5 separate regions of the Homo sapiens genome follow, and all the other regions are linked to region 4. The links are contacts of gene promoters, found by promoter capture Hi-C in blood cells and fetal thymus (Javierre and others, 2016). All regions are on one chromosome and are shown on one strand. Each heading gives the region's core, a stretch centred on a gene start or on the middle of the fragment in contact. The rest is flanking DNA. Distances are from core to core; before and after follow the strand shown.

Evidence for each region. Contacts are between HindIII fragments. The CHiCAGO score rates a contact against its expected background, and 5 or more counts as called.
Region 1: a fragment that was not itself captured here is called in contact with the fragment with the promoter of ADRB1 in region 4 in 1 of 17 cell types (neutrophils); the score reaches 5.2 in neutrophils.
Region 2: a fragment that was not itself captured here is called in contact with the fragment with the promoter of ADRB1 in region 4 in 5 of 17 cell types (total CD8 T cells, naive B cells, endothelial precursors and 2 more); the score reaches 5.9 in total CD8 T cells.
Region 3: a fragment that was not itself captured here is called in contact with the fragment with the promoter of ADRB1 in region 4 in 14 of 17 cell types (megakaryocytes, endothelial precursors, total B cells and 11 more); the score reaches 9.4 in megakaryocytes.
Region 5: a fragment that was not itself captured here is called in contact with the fragment with the promoter of ADRB1 in region 4 in 2 of 17 cell types (megakaryocytes and M0 macrophages); the score reaches 5.7 in megakaryocytes.

What each region holds. Positions count from the first base shown.
Region 1 is chr10:113,888,090-113,890,789 of GRCh38, forward strand. The region is part of intron 5 of NHLRC2 (NHL repeat containing 2); the gene reads left to right. Among named protein-coding and RNA genes, the nearest start is that of NHLRC2, 35 kb to the left of the region's middle. The HindIII fragment of the contact is 8,562 bases long and covers 1-2,700 here.
Region 2 is chr10:113,827,652-113,830,351 of GRCh38, forward strand. No RefSeq gene overlaps it. Among named protein-coding and RNA genes, the nearest start is that of DCLRE1A, 25 kb to the right of the region's middle. The HindIII fragment of the contact is 905 bases long and covers 856-1,760 here.
Region 3 is chr10:113,801,877-113,804,576 of GRCh38, forward strand. No RefSeq gene overlaps it. Among named protein-coding and RNA genes, the nearest start is that of MIR4483, 25 kb to the left of the region's middle. The HindIII fragment of the contact is 2,249 bases long and covers 163-2,411 here.
Region 4 is chr10:114,042,599-114,045,298 of GRCh38, forward strand. ADRB1 (adrenoceptor beta 1) reads left to right here and starts at 1,268. Exons shown (of 1, transcript NM_000684.3): 1 at 1,268-2,700. The coding sequence starts at 1,535. RefSeq lists an enhancer at 636-685 and silencers at 956-1,235, 1,306-1,365. The HindIII fragment of the contact is 8,909 bases long and covers 1-2,700 here.
Region 5 is chr10:113,869,395-113,872,094 of GRCh38, forward strand. The region is part of intron 2 of NHLRC2 (NHL repeat containing 2); the gene reads left to right. Among named protein-coding and RNA genes, the nearest start is that of NHLRC2, 16 kb to the left of the region's middle. The HindIII fragment of the contact is 5,851 bases long and covers 1-2,700 here.

The DNA of each region.
Region 1 (2,700 bases), core at 90-2,589, 150 kb before region 4:
TAAATTTAAAAAAATTGTAAGAAAATCTCAGAAAAAGAACGTAGGAAGGTGGTTGCTAGAGGCTAGGAATAAGGGAAGGTATGGGGAAAGGGAAGAGGTTGATCAAAGGGTACAAAGTTTCAATTGGAGGAATAAGTTTTAGAGATAATTGTGCACTGCATGGTGACTGACTTGTAGTTATTAATGTGTATTTCACAGCTGCTAAAAGAATAAATATTTAACATTTGCACCACACAGAAAAAAATGTTGGTATATTCATAGATATATTATTTAGCTTGATTGAATCTTTCTACAGTATACACATAGATCAAAACATGACATTGTACCCCACGAATGTACACAATTATTATTGGTCAATTAAAAATTTGAAAAAGATGTAGGAAAGGGACTAGAAATATCTCATTATTTTAAATCTACATGTAGTATGTAAATGCATGTGTTTATGTATTTTAAATGGTATCTGAATATTTAACCTGACTATGCCGTATAGTTATAAAAATAATTAATATAAAGTGACTTTTACAAAATTACATTTTATCTGTGTTCATTTTTTAATTGTCATTCTTAATGTGGTCAGAACATCATGCACCAAAAATAATTACTACAGTAAGTTCATTTTTTCAGCAGATACATTGTAATGTTTCTAAAATGTGTATCAGGTCTGTGTTGACTCCATTTGTACCAGACAACAACCTGAAAGACGTTTAGCATAAAGGTTGAAACTCCTATCAGTATCTTTTTTTTTTTTTTTTTTTGAGACTGAGGCTCGCCATATCACCTAGGCTGGAGTGCAGTGACGTGATCTCGGCTCACTGCAACCTCTGCCTGTCGGGTTCAAGCAATTCTCCTGCCTCAGCCTCCCAAGTAGCTGAGATTACAGGTGTGCACCACCATGCCTGGCTAATTTTTGTATTTTTAGTAGAGATGGGGTTTCACCATGTTGGCCAGGCTGTTCTCTAACTCCTGACCTCTAGTGATTTGCCCGCCTTGGCCTCCCAAAGTGCTGGGATTACAGGTATGAGCCACTGCGCCCAGCCAAAACCCCTATCAGTATCTAAGTACTTTAAGACTTTACCTGATTTTGAGTCATTTATAGAAAGGATAACGTGCCAGAATCCCATTAACCTTTCTTGGCCCTTTAATCAACATTTTCCCTAGATAGAAGTTTAGCCATTCTTCTACAACCTTTAATGGTTGAAATCCAACTATTTAGTATGCTAGTCTGATAATCTACAGTGTTCGTATTTATGTGCTTCAATAAATGCTTCTCTGACTCGCATTATTAATATGATATAAAATACCATGAAAATATTTTTGCTTTAAAAAAATCAGATGACACGGAGTTTTGAAGGAATAAATTTGATGCAGTATGACTAGTACATTTTTATTTTGTTAAAATAAGTTATATCTTTATGTCTAAAATTTGAGAGAAGATTCTTATACTGCCTTATCACATTGACTTGGTGTTGATTTTTTTTAGGTTAATTAGGTATAATTTATATACAGTAAAATTTACCCTTATTAGGTATATAATTCTATGAAATTTGACAAAGAAGTGCAGTCTTGTAACTTTTACCACAGTCAAGATACAGAATATTTTCATCCCAAAAAGTTATTTCATAGCCTGTTGTTGAGTCTCCCCCCGCCATCACCACACTCACTGCAGCAACTGGCAGCAGTGATCTCTTTCCTGTTCTCTGTCATCTTTCATGTCTGGCTTCTTCCATTTAGCATAATGTTTTTGAGATTCATCCCTGTGGTTCCATGTATCAGTAATTTGTTCTCTTTTATCACTGAGTAGTAGTTCGTTGTATGGCTCTACCACAGTTTGTTTATTCATTCACCAGTTAATAGACATTTGAAGGTATTTCTAGTTTTCAGTGGCTATAGAAAACCTCCATAAACGTTTGTGCACAGTTTTTGTTTTGTGGTAATATGCATTCACTTCTCTTGGGCAAATGCCTAAGAATGAGATTACTGGGTCATATGGTAAGTGAATGTGTACAAGAAACTGCCAGACTGTTTTCCACAGTGGCTGTTTTCTTAAAGTCCCAAATGTCTGTTGGGAGTCATTGCTTCTGCCTGAAGAACTTCTTATGACACAGGTCTGCTGGCAGTGATTTTTCTTGCCTTTATTCTGGTCTGAAAAAGTATCTAGCTTTCATTTTTGAAAGTTATTTTTATTGCGTATGTGAATCTGGATTAACATTTTTTTCTTTTACTATTTTAAAGATATTACTCCATTGTCTTTTGACTTACATAGTTTTCCACAAGACACCTGTTTTAATATTATCTCTTGTTCTTTATATGTAAAGTGTATTTTTTTCTCTGGTTGCTTTCAAGATTTTATCTTTGGTTTTCAGCAGTTTGATATATCTAAGAATTATCCTGCTTGGAGTTCTTGAATCTGTGGTTTGATGTTCATTATTGTCAAGAAATTCTCACTCATTATCTCTTCAGATATTTTTTTCTGCCCCTTTCTGTCTTTCTCTTTCTGGGACTTCAGTTACTCATGTTAGATTTCTTCTTAATATTATATTCAATAACTCTTGCATATTGTGTTCTTTTTATTCATTCTTCTTATTTTTTCTTTTTGTACTAGTAATTTCTACCAATTTATCTTCAGTCATTAATTCTTTCTTCAGCTGTGTCTAGTCAACTGATGAGCCTGTTGTATTAGTCCATTCTCATACTGCTATA
Region 2 (2,700 bases), core at 58-2,557, 210 kb before region 4:
TATATTTTTATTTCCAGTGTTCCTTCTGGAATAAAACTATTTTCATCTGAGGAATACACATAAAATAATTTTGGAAGTCAATTCTTAGAATGTACATGGATTTTTGTCACTGTTTATTAAAGATTCATTCAAGTATTCATCACTTATGTGAACTGTCCCTGGGCAGACACTGGAAAAGGTACTGAATCATCAATAAGATACAGGCTCTGACCTTAAGTGTTTACAGTATACTAGGGGAAGGATCTCAAAGGAATCTAGGTTTGATGCTTCAGAAAAACTGGTACTAATTATCTTGATATTGATGAATTTAGAAGTTCTTTAAAAAGTACTCTTTTAAATTCAGATTTAAATGTTTATGTTTCAATGTGTACTAAAAACAAAGGTATAACAATATTTAGAAAGCCATTTTTATTCATGCAAACAGCAAAAGAACATAACTAGATGCTATGAGTCAGGGCTGGGACTAGGGTGAGTAAAGAGAGGTTTTCTAGAGCAAAATTTCATGAGGCCACTCGCTCTCAGGGTCCCGTAAATACAGGGTCAGCCTTAAAAAGGAGTGCCTCTTTAAATTCATCACCCTAGTCACCTCCTCTGCTTTACCTGAGCTCTGGCCCAGCTATGAATGTTTAAGAAATTAGTAATTTTGTGTTATACCTGGTTGCGTATACTTGGTATACTCCACAACAAATGCTTTATAAATTATTTCTGATTTATAGAAAATGGAACTTTGAAATTATGGAGGGAATGCATTATGATGCAAAGGGAATATGTTTACTTTTGGGAGCAAAGAGTAGATACTTAGGGAAAAGGAGAAATGAAACAGAATTAGCACATTAAAATGATTGCCAAGTTAAAAGCTTTCAAGTGTTCAGATTGGAAGTAATTCTCATGACTAAACTGTTCTACTGTTATTTATAACCATTAACTTATGCTTTTGTTAACTTCAAATAACTTGTATTGGCATCTGTAATTGTCCATTCTCACGCTGCTATGAAGAAATACCCAAGAGTGGGTAATTTATAAAGAAAAGAGGTTTAATTGACTCACGGTTCCGCATGGCTAGGGAGGCCTCAGGAAACTTACAATCACGGCTGAACGCACTTCTTTACAGAGCGGCAAGGAAGAAGACGAGTGCCCAGCGAAAGGGGGAAGCCCCATATAAAGGCATAGGATCTCGCGAGAACTAACTCACTATCATGAGAACAGGATGAGGGAAACCAGTCCCAGGATTCAATTATCTCCACCTGGTCCCTCCCAGGACACATGGGGATTATGGAAACTACAATTCAAGATGAGATTTGGGTGGGGACACAACCAACCCTATCGTTTTTCTAAGATCAATACCAAATGAACTAAATGAATAAAAAAACAGTAAGTTACAAGCTAATATCGACACTCTAAGACAGATTGTTTTGGAGATTAGCACCTGAAGATTATTTTCTTAATTCCTTAGTGTAGTTATTGATGGTTATTCAAGACTGAATAAGGAAATTCTGGATGCACTTGAGCCATGGGAATACAACTCATTTAAATTTTAAATTTGAATGAAATTTAAAATTGAAATTAAAATTAAATTTGTTGTCCAAAAGAGAAATTTCATATTTAGGTACATTATTAAATATAGACTAAGTGATAATTTAAATGTAAAAGGCATTGACATTAAGTAAGAAAGGTTTTCCCATTAGATCAAAGTTAAAACAATTTGAAATCAGTCTTTCAAGTGTCACTACACCTGGTAATAAAATGTTCAATGTCAGATAAGCTTGTAAAGAAGCTTTCTGAAGGCCGGGCGCAGTGGCTTACGCCTGTAATCCTAGCATTTTGGGAAGCCGAGGCCAGCAGATTGCCTAAGCTCAGGAGTTTGCGACCAGCCTGGGCAACATGGTGAAACTCCGTCTCTACTAAAATACAAAAAATTAGCCGTGCACCTGTAGTCCCAGCTACTTGGGAGGCTGAGGCAGGAGAATTGCTTGAACCTGGGAGGCAGAGGTTGCAGAGCTGAAATCGCGCCACTGCACTCCAGCCTGGGCCACAGAGCAAGACTCCATCTAAAAAACAAAAATGCTTTCTGAAAAGTTCCAAGTAAATATAAAGCAAAACATTTCCCCCACCTTGGCTTGATTCTACTTCCCCTTCTCTCCACATATTTTAGGATGTTAAGAGCTGCCAGATATTTTGGGTTGGTGGTAGGTTTCTTTTTCTTTCATTTCGCTTAAAAATGGAAAATTTTTACCTACCAAAATGTTGTATCAGAACTAAGAATTTCATATATGCTGTCAATAGAACCTAGAAAAGTTTAGTTGTGGTTGTGACTTATTTATAACACTATTTGGTATGTCCCTTAAATGAGGTACTTAATTTGGTATGTCCAGCAATAGCGGGACATTATTCCAAGCTGCCACAAATGATGATTTTCACGTAGAAAGATGTTTTTGCATAGAATAATAAAAAGGCTGAGGCTGAGGCTGCTCTTGAAATAACATGCTTGGATTTTCAAAAACGTTCAAAATCATAAAAAATCTTTTTACCTATGAAAAATGACAATTCTAGTGGGAAAAATCATTCAATTAATAAATAAAAATAACCCCAGACGACTTGACTATCTCCCTTATGTTAAGAATATCTATAATTACAGAAATATAAAGTTTTTCTAATTATAACTCTTAATAGCTTACAAAAAGTTTAAAACATCAAGACAAG
Region 3 (2,700 bases), core at 37-2,536, 240 kb before region 4:
TGCTGCAGTCAAAATTGTGAGTCTCAGCCATCAACGGCCTGGGCATTCCATGACACATAGCCTCATACTGATAACACTGTGTGGTGCCTTCACTCCCCAACTGCACTCTAGTTACTGAGGAGCAGGTACCAAGACTCTGTCTCACTCATAGCAGGCACTCGAAGCTTCTCTATAATACATGGCGTGCTGGGATTGGACAGAGTATGGGAGGCCATCCAATCTAACGTTCTCATCTACAGAATGAGGTTTAAGGACCCCAGGAAGTTGAAAGACTTGCCCAAGTTGACTCAGTTAGTAGCAAAATAAGAACTTGAACCTAGGACTCCTAACTTCTAGATCTGTTGTTTGAATCAATAGGGAGCACTGAGAAGCTCGAAGATGATCTGGTGATTTCAAAGGCTGCTGTTGAAAAGGAGTAAAGGATGTGGAGTCCTTCTTCTTCCCCTCCTGGTTCTCTGCAGGCCCCCTATGATGGAAGAACACTAAGCTACACGTCTGAGTAGAACAAACAAAAGCAGAGTAGCAGCATTTGGGAAGAGACAAGGATATGGGGAGAAAGTGGGAGACTTCTTCTAACCCAGCCTGCTTCTAGGAACTTTCTTAGCTGGTCCAAACCTGGTTCTGGAAAGAAAAGAACAAACTGGTTTACCAAAGCTCTGAGTAAGGGCTATCAGGACAGCTGCACAGGTTGGTCTGGGTTTGGCTAAGTGAGATGACTGGGGCAAGGCTTTGTAAGTAATAAAGCAGTAGATGAGCAAGAGGAAGATTAATGTCAGTCATTTATTTTAATCCAAAAAAGGCTTGGCTTTCATTGTACTGTTGGAATTTGGAGTCAGAACAAAACAGTACCAAGAATGTTACAGAATCCAATCAATCTTGGCTTTTAAAATGCAGAATGGCTTCACTGCTATTTTTCTTTTTCTCTTTCTCTGTCTCTCTTTATCTTTCTTTTCTCTTTCTTTCTTTCTTTGAGACAGGGTCCCACTCTGTCATGAAGGCTGGAATGGAGTGGTGTGATCACAGCTCACCGCAGCCTTGATCTTCCCAGCTCAAGAGATCCTCCTGCCTTAGCTTCCCCAGTAGCTGGGACTACAGGCACATGCCACCACGCCCAGCTAATTTTTGTATTTTCTTTTTTTTTTTTTAGAAATGGGATCTTACTATGTTGCCCAGTTGGTCTCAAACTCCTGGGTTCAAGCAATCCTTCCACCTCGGCCTCCCAAAGTGTTAGGATTACAGGCATGAGCCACCACATGTGGCCTACACTGTTATTTCCATCACGAGAGAGACCCAGCTTGCTATCAGTGAAGTTCCCTTGCTACTTCCTCATTCCACGGTACATAGGAAGTATGTATCTCTTATTGGATTCACGTCCACACATGGTTAATCTTTCAAAGGCTGACAAAACACACAAACAGAAGAACAGCTTTGCAAGTAGTTCTTGTTTAATGTAATCATTTGGGGCATTCTGGCACTGGGAAGTTTACAAAGTTAAATATCAATTTCAGTTCTGTTGCTTGATTCATGACAAGAAATCTCTGAGGTAGTAAAGACAGGAAAACAACACTGGGGTTGTAATTCATGTCTCCCTAGCACAAGACCTAGCATGGATATGCTGGCACAACGCCTGGCAAAAAGACAATTAGAGGAACAGCTAACCTGAGTGTGTTACTGAGGGTCTAAACTGAAGGCTGTGCTTATCCCCAATCATGGGGCTCAGGAGCCAGAATTTAATCATGCAAAAAGCCAAATATCAGATATGGATAGAGTGACCACGTAAAGTTAAAATGCAAGTTAGCTCAGGCACATGGATTTAGTGCCTAAAACAAAATAAATCCAGGCCTGAAGAACTGAGAACTCAGCCAAAGACTGGGGAAAGATGGATGATTCTTCTTTGAATAGAAAAACTGCAAATACTAATGACCTCCCAGGCATTTGTGCTAGAATTAGTCTTAAATTTCTATAAGTAATTCAGAATTGAGATCTCCAAGTTTGCACATCACGATACGTTTTCTAGAGAAGCAGAATGTCAAGCTACTAAGAATAAATGGCAAAACAGCTCACTAAGTTCTGAGAGCGGCCAGAATAGAAGTAGAAAATTTCAAGGTAAGCAAGAGAACAAGGAAATCACACTTAAATAATTATGGGATTCAGCAATCCCTGTGAGTTATCCTTATGGAGTTTCCTGTGAGCTCAAAGTACTGGAACTAAAAACAAACGCCAACTAAATGTAAAGCATCCTCAGAAAGGGATATGCAAGCTAAACTCTGTAAATTACAGTGTATCTAGAATCTTTGAAACAATTTCAATTGCCACATTCCAAGGCTCATTGGAGAGGAGTCAGAATGCCTCTGAAGGGTCTGAATGGAATTGGGAGCGCGGGCTGCCATATCAAGATTCCTCAGGATGAAAGCTTGGAGGGGCCTTCAACATGACATTCTGTAAAGTGGGAGCATGACTAGGGAAGGTCAGAGCAAACATTCCAGGGTGCTGATTGCACCTGCTCTGTGCTAAACACCTAGCACACATGAATCTTCTCACTTATAATGTAGTGGCTCCATGGAGTGAAGACTAATTAGTAGCTTATTTTATAGAAGGAACTAAGGTGTAGAGGAGTTAAATAACCTTCTACTAAGGGGTAAGAATTCCAACCAAGGCTGTTTGACTCCCAAGCCACTGATGACACTAAACTGCTTTTCT
Region 4 (2,700 bases), core at 18-2,517:
AAAACTAATCTCAGAGTTTTGAGAATCTGGGAACTTGGGCAAAGGAGAAAACAAGCACGCAGACCAAGGAATCTGAAATCGCAGTTCATTACGTCAGCATAAACTGACAGTACCTTTTTGTTTGTATTGACCCAGCTCAAATTATAAAATCACATGAGTAATAAAACACAAAATACAGGTGTTATCATTGAAAAGTCTAAAATGTAATTAAACGCGTTTTTTCCCCCTCGCGGTGGTATCGTTTACTCTGTATCTCAACGTTTCTGTCTCCCTAAGCCTCTCCTTTCATATCATGAGCATACATTTTTGCATCATGCTCACACGTTCATTAGCTAGGACTGAGGAGTGTGTACGATTCCAAAGGGCCCTCAGCGTTAGCTGTTAGATGCACAAACCTTCGCTTCCTTTCCACATCTACTGCACTCGAGGTTCAACAGAGGATCCTTGCAAGAACAGCGCCCAGAGAGCATTCTTGACAGATGCGCGCTTGGCTCCAGCAACCCGCTCTGCTGGGAAGTTTCTTCTAACCACTAACACCCACCTCCAATCCCCCAAGCTGTCACGACGCATGCTGGCTGGGTCCCGTCTTGACGGGGGAAGGGTTTTACACACACCCTGCTAGGCTGCCCCACATCACAACCAAGCTCGCAGGGCAAACTCCTCCAAGCCTGGCGGACAAGCTGTCCCAGGCGCTCTGGCGCTTCCTGAACACCAAGGTCCCCTCCCCGCTCAAGGGAGCTAGCGCTCTGTTCCGCAGAGAACCCCGGAACTGCAGGTCGAGGGGATGCGGGGGGAGCGGGGGCGCAGGAGGGAGCCGAGTGCTGGAGGCAAACGGGGCGCAGGAGCGGGTGCGGGAGGCAAACGGGGCGCAGGAGCGGGTGCGGGAGGCAAACGGGGCGCAGGAGTGGGTGCGGGAGCGAGTGGGGGCTGAGGGAGGGGACGGGGCCCCGGGGGGAGCCAGGCGCGGAAGGGGGCGCGGGGGAACAGGGACCAGGAACCAGCGGGCGCAGGAAGGGGTGCGTCCGCAGGAACCCGCGGGCGCACGGGAGGCACTAGCTACGCGATCAGCTCGGGACTCTCAGGAGCCGCTCAATTGCCAACGGGAGGGGGGTGCGGGGAGTTGGAGGTGGGGGTGCAGACCAGACGGGGGCGTGCCTTTGCCCGGATTGGCTGCAGGAGCCTGACGCGAGGCCCCGGGGGTTGGCTTGGGGAGTGGGAGCGGGGTGGGGTGGGTGCTGGGTGCCGGAGCTGCGGGCCCGGCGCGCTCAGAAACATGCTGAAGTCCCGGCGGCTCTTCCAGCAGCGGCAGCGGCTCCAGCAGCAGCGGCGGCGGCGGCGGCGGCGGCAGCGGCAGCGACAGCGCTCGGCTCCTGCGGGAAAGGCGCCCGGCGCCCATGCCTCCGGCCCCGCGCCGCGGCTGCCCTGACCCGGCCGCGACCTCCCTCTGCGCACCACGCCGCCCGGGCTTCTGGGGTGTTCCCCAACCACGGCCCAGCCCTGCCACACCCCCCGCCCCCGGCCTCCGCAGCTCGGCATGGGCGCGGGGGTGCTCGTCCTGGGCGCCTCCGAGCCCGGTAACCTGTCGTCGGCCGCACCGCTCCCCGACGGCGCGGCCACCGCGGCGCGGCTGCTGGTGCCCGCGTCGCCGCCCGCCTCGTTGCTGCCTCCCGCCAGCGAAAGCCCCGAGCCGCTGTCTCAGCAGTGGACAGCGGGCATGGGTCTGCTGATGGCGCTCATCGTGCTGCTCATCGTGGCGGGCAATGTGCTGGTGATCGTGGCCATCGCCAAGACGCCGCGGCTGCAGACGCTCACCAACCTCTTCATCATGTCCCTGGCCAGCGCCGACCTGGTCATGGGGCTGCTGGTGGTGCCGTTCGGGGCCACCATCGTGGTGTGGGGCCGCTGGGAGTACGGCTCCTTCTTCTGCGAGCTGTGGACCTCAGTGGACGTGCTGTGCGTGACGGCCAGCATCGAGACCCTGTGTGTCATTGCCCTGGACCGCTACCTCGCCATCACCTCGCCCTTCCGCTACCAGAGCCTGCTGACGCGCGCGCGGGCGCGGGGCCTCGTGTGCACCGTGTGGGCCATCTCGGCCCTGGTGTCCTTCCTGCCCATCCTCATGCACTGGTGGCGGGCGGAGAGCGACGAGGCGCGCCGCTGCTACAACGACCCCAAGTGCTGCGACTTCGTCACCAACCGGGCCTACGCCATCGCCTCGTCCGTAGTCTCCTTCTACGTGCCCCTGTGCATCATGGCCTTCGTGTACCTGCGGGTGTTCCGCGAGGCCCAGAAGCAGGTGAAGAAGATCGACAGCTGCGAGCGCCGTTTCCTCGGCGGCCCAGCGCGGCCGCCCTCGCCCTCGCCCTCGCCCGTCCCCGCGCCCGCGCCGCCGCCCGGACCCCCGCGCCCCGCCGCCGCCGCCGCCACCGCCCCGCTGGCCAACGGGCGTGCGGGTAAGCGGCGGCCCTCGCGCCTCGTGGCCCTGCGCGAGCAGAAGGCGCTCAAGACGCTGGGCATCATCATGGGCGTCTTCACGCTCTGCTGGCTGCCCTTCTTCCTGGCCAACGTGGTGAAGGCCTTCCACCGCGAGCTGGTGCCCGACCGCCTCTTCGTCTTCTTCAACTGGCTGGGCTACGCCAACTCGGCCTTCAACCCCATCATCTACTGCCGCAGCCCCGACTTCCGCAAGGCCTTCCAGGG
Region 5 (2,700 bases), core at 198-2,697, 170 kb before region 4:
CATTCTCCATATAACTTCCCATTTTTCTTAGGATAAAGATATAAATCTTTACCATGACTTACAAGACTGATCCCATCTGTATGTTTGTTCTCATTTTGTCCCACGTTCTCCATTGTTCTCTGTGCCTAGTCACTTACCTTCTTCAGTTTCTTCTATCCTTCCTGCTTCCTCTTTGTAGGTGCTGTTGTCTCTCCCTGGAATCTCCTTCAGCGTTCTCTGCACCTAACACCTCATCATTCACATCTCACTTCAGTCATCACTTCTTCAAGGAAATGTTGGGATATATTTATCAGTAGGAAAATGTGTGATACATGATAACATACTTTATGATAAATATTACATATATATAATGTACATAAAATGTATACAGATTTAACTCATGGATTCTTATTTAAAATTCATTGGGTTATAAATAATTACTGTGATAATTTATTTTGGTATTCCAATGGTCCAAGATTTGACTAATAGGATCCCCTTCAGGCTGTCTTCTGTGATCTTTTGGTATTTCTTTGTCGTTTTTTGAGCCCTTCCTTACTAAATACACCAAAATATTTCCATATGTATCTTGTGTTTTTCCAGCCCAACCCTGAGTCAGCTATTTCTTTAAGGAGCTTTGATCCCTTTTAGTAGGGAATGGTATTGAGAAACCAAGGTCTGGGAACTAGATGTGCTCATTGCTACTATGGTGTTTTTGCTTCTAGTTTCTCAAATAATTCAGAAATTACTTAGGCTATTCCTTCCCACTTCTCAGCTTCCCCCATTAAATTATGTTATTCATCTAAAGTATCGTTAGATTTATTTTTTTCTATTTGTATTTCATTTTAAGTCCCCCCATCTTTGTTGACTTAGTTTTTGAGTGTGTAAGACAACATGGTCTTCAAAGTGAGGATGAAACAGATATTCATTCTATCCACCCATCCCTTCTAACTGTTCTTGCCTTCCCATTTCTGTCCTATATTTTTTAAAATTTCCTTTTTTTTAAAACAAAAGGTGACATACTGTAGACATTTTTATACACTCGCTTTTTTCATGTAAAATTTTATCCCAGGAGTCACTTCATAACAGTTCATAGAGAACTTCTTGACTTTTAAAAATAACTGCATAGTACTCCGCTATATGTGTGCCATAACTCATTCAGCCACTCTCCTATCCTGTGTGTTGGCTCTTAGATCATTCCATATTTAGCAATTATAAGCAATAAATAATCTTGTAGATATGCTTTTGTCTTGCTGGTGGAATCACTTAAGGATAAATTCCTAAAAGTGGCATTGCTGGGTCAAAGTTAAGTACATATGTAGTTTCGTTAGGTATTGCCTAGTTCTTCATCAGGAAAGTTGTACCAGTTTGTATTTCTGCTAGCAGTGTGTGAGTGTACCTCTTTCTCAGATGCTGCTTCAATAAACTGTCTTGACATACTTTTTAATTTTTACCAATCTAATAGATAGGAAGTGGTATCTTGGTGTAATTTTAAGATGTATTTTTGAGTTGGGTTAATCTTATGTTTATATGGCTATTTATTGTATATGAAGTTTTGTCTGCCATTATATCCCCTAACTGGTTATTGTTTGAGTATATAAAGGCTACTGATTTCCATGTGTTAATTATTCTTGCTTCCTGCATCTTTTTTTTTTTTTTTTTTTTTTTTTTGAGACGGAGTTTTGTTCTTATTGCCCAGGCTAGAGTACAGTGGCGTGATCTCGGTTCACCGCAACGTTTGCCTCTCAGGTTCAAGCAATTCTCCTGCCTCAGCCTCCCAAGTAGCTGGGATTACGTGGATGTGCCACCACGCCCGGCTAATTTTGTATTTTTAGTAGAGACAGAGTTTCTCCATGTTGGTCAGGCTGGTCTTGGCCTCCCGACCTCAGGTGATCAGCCAGCCTCGGCCTCCCAAAGTGTTGGGATTACAGGCGTGAGCCACTGCACCTGGCCCTGAATCTTTTATTATTTGACTTAGTTTTATAATTGAGTCTCTGGACTTTTCTTGATATACTGTTATAGCTCCATATAGAAATTTTTCAGTCTTATGCCTCTAATTGATTTCACTTGTCTAATTATGTTGGCTAATCCCCCACGCCCCACCTCAATTTATTGTTAAACAATAGTAGAGATGGTAGGCATTTTTTTCCTTATTCTTTATCGTATTGGAAGTACTTCTGTTTTTATACTACTGGAAATACTTCTATTTTATACTGTACTTCTGTTTTTATACCAGTTTCTGGTTTTATACTTAGTTTATTTAATCAACTAACAAAGTATGAAAGATTAGTGTAAGTAATTATATGTCAATAAACCTAATGATTAAAAAGAATCTATCTGTGCTACTTCTGGGTTTGGAGGAGGATGGTGGCTACCTGATCTTGAATCTCCCCACTGTCCCTCCCCTCTGTTCCAAACAATAAAAAAGGGGAGAACAAGTAAAATCTCACTTGGCCCTGCATTTCACAATACTAGGAGACAGAGAATATCATGGCCTTGACATTAGATGGAAGTTCAGAAATAAACTAAATTCCCATAAAGGTTCTATTGCTGTAAGTCTGTGGATGCCAAGAACAAGTGTAGGGGAGACTTAAAAGACTCCATGAGAACAAGCAGAGTGGTTCAGAGTATTTAGACAACGCACAAACAGAATAGTCTCCTTACCCCCAGAAAGAGAAGCTCCAATACAAAGTATAAAATACTGAACACAGGTTTGGACATACT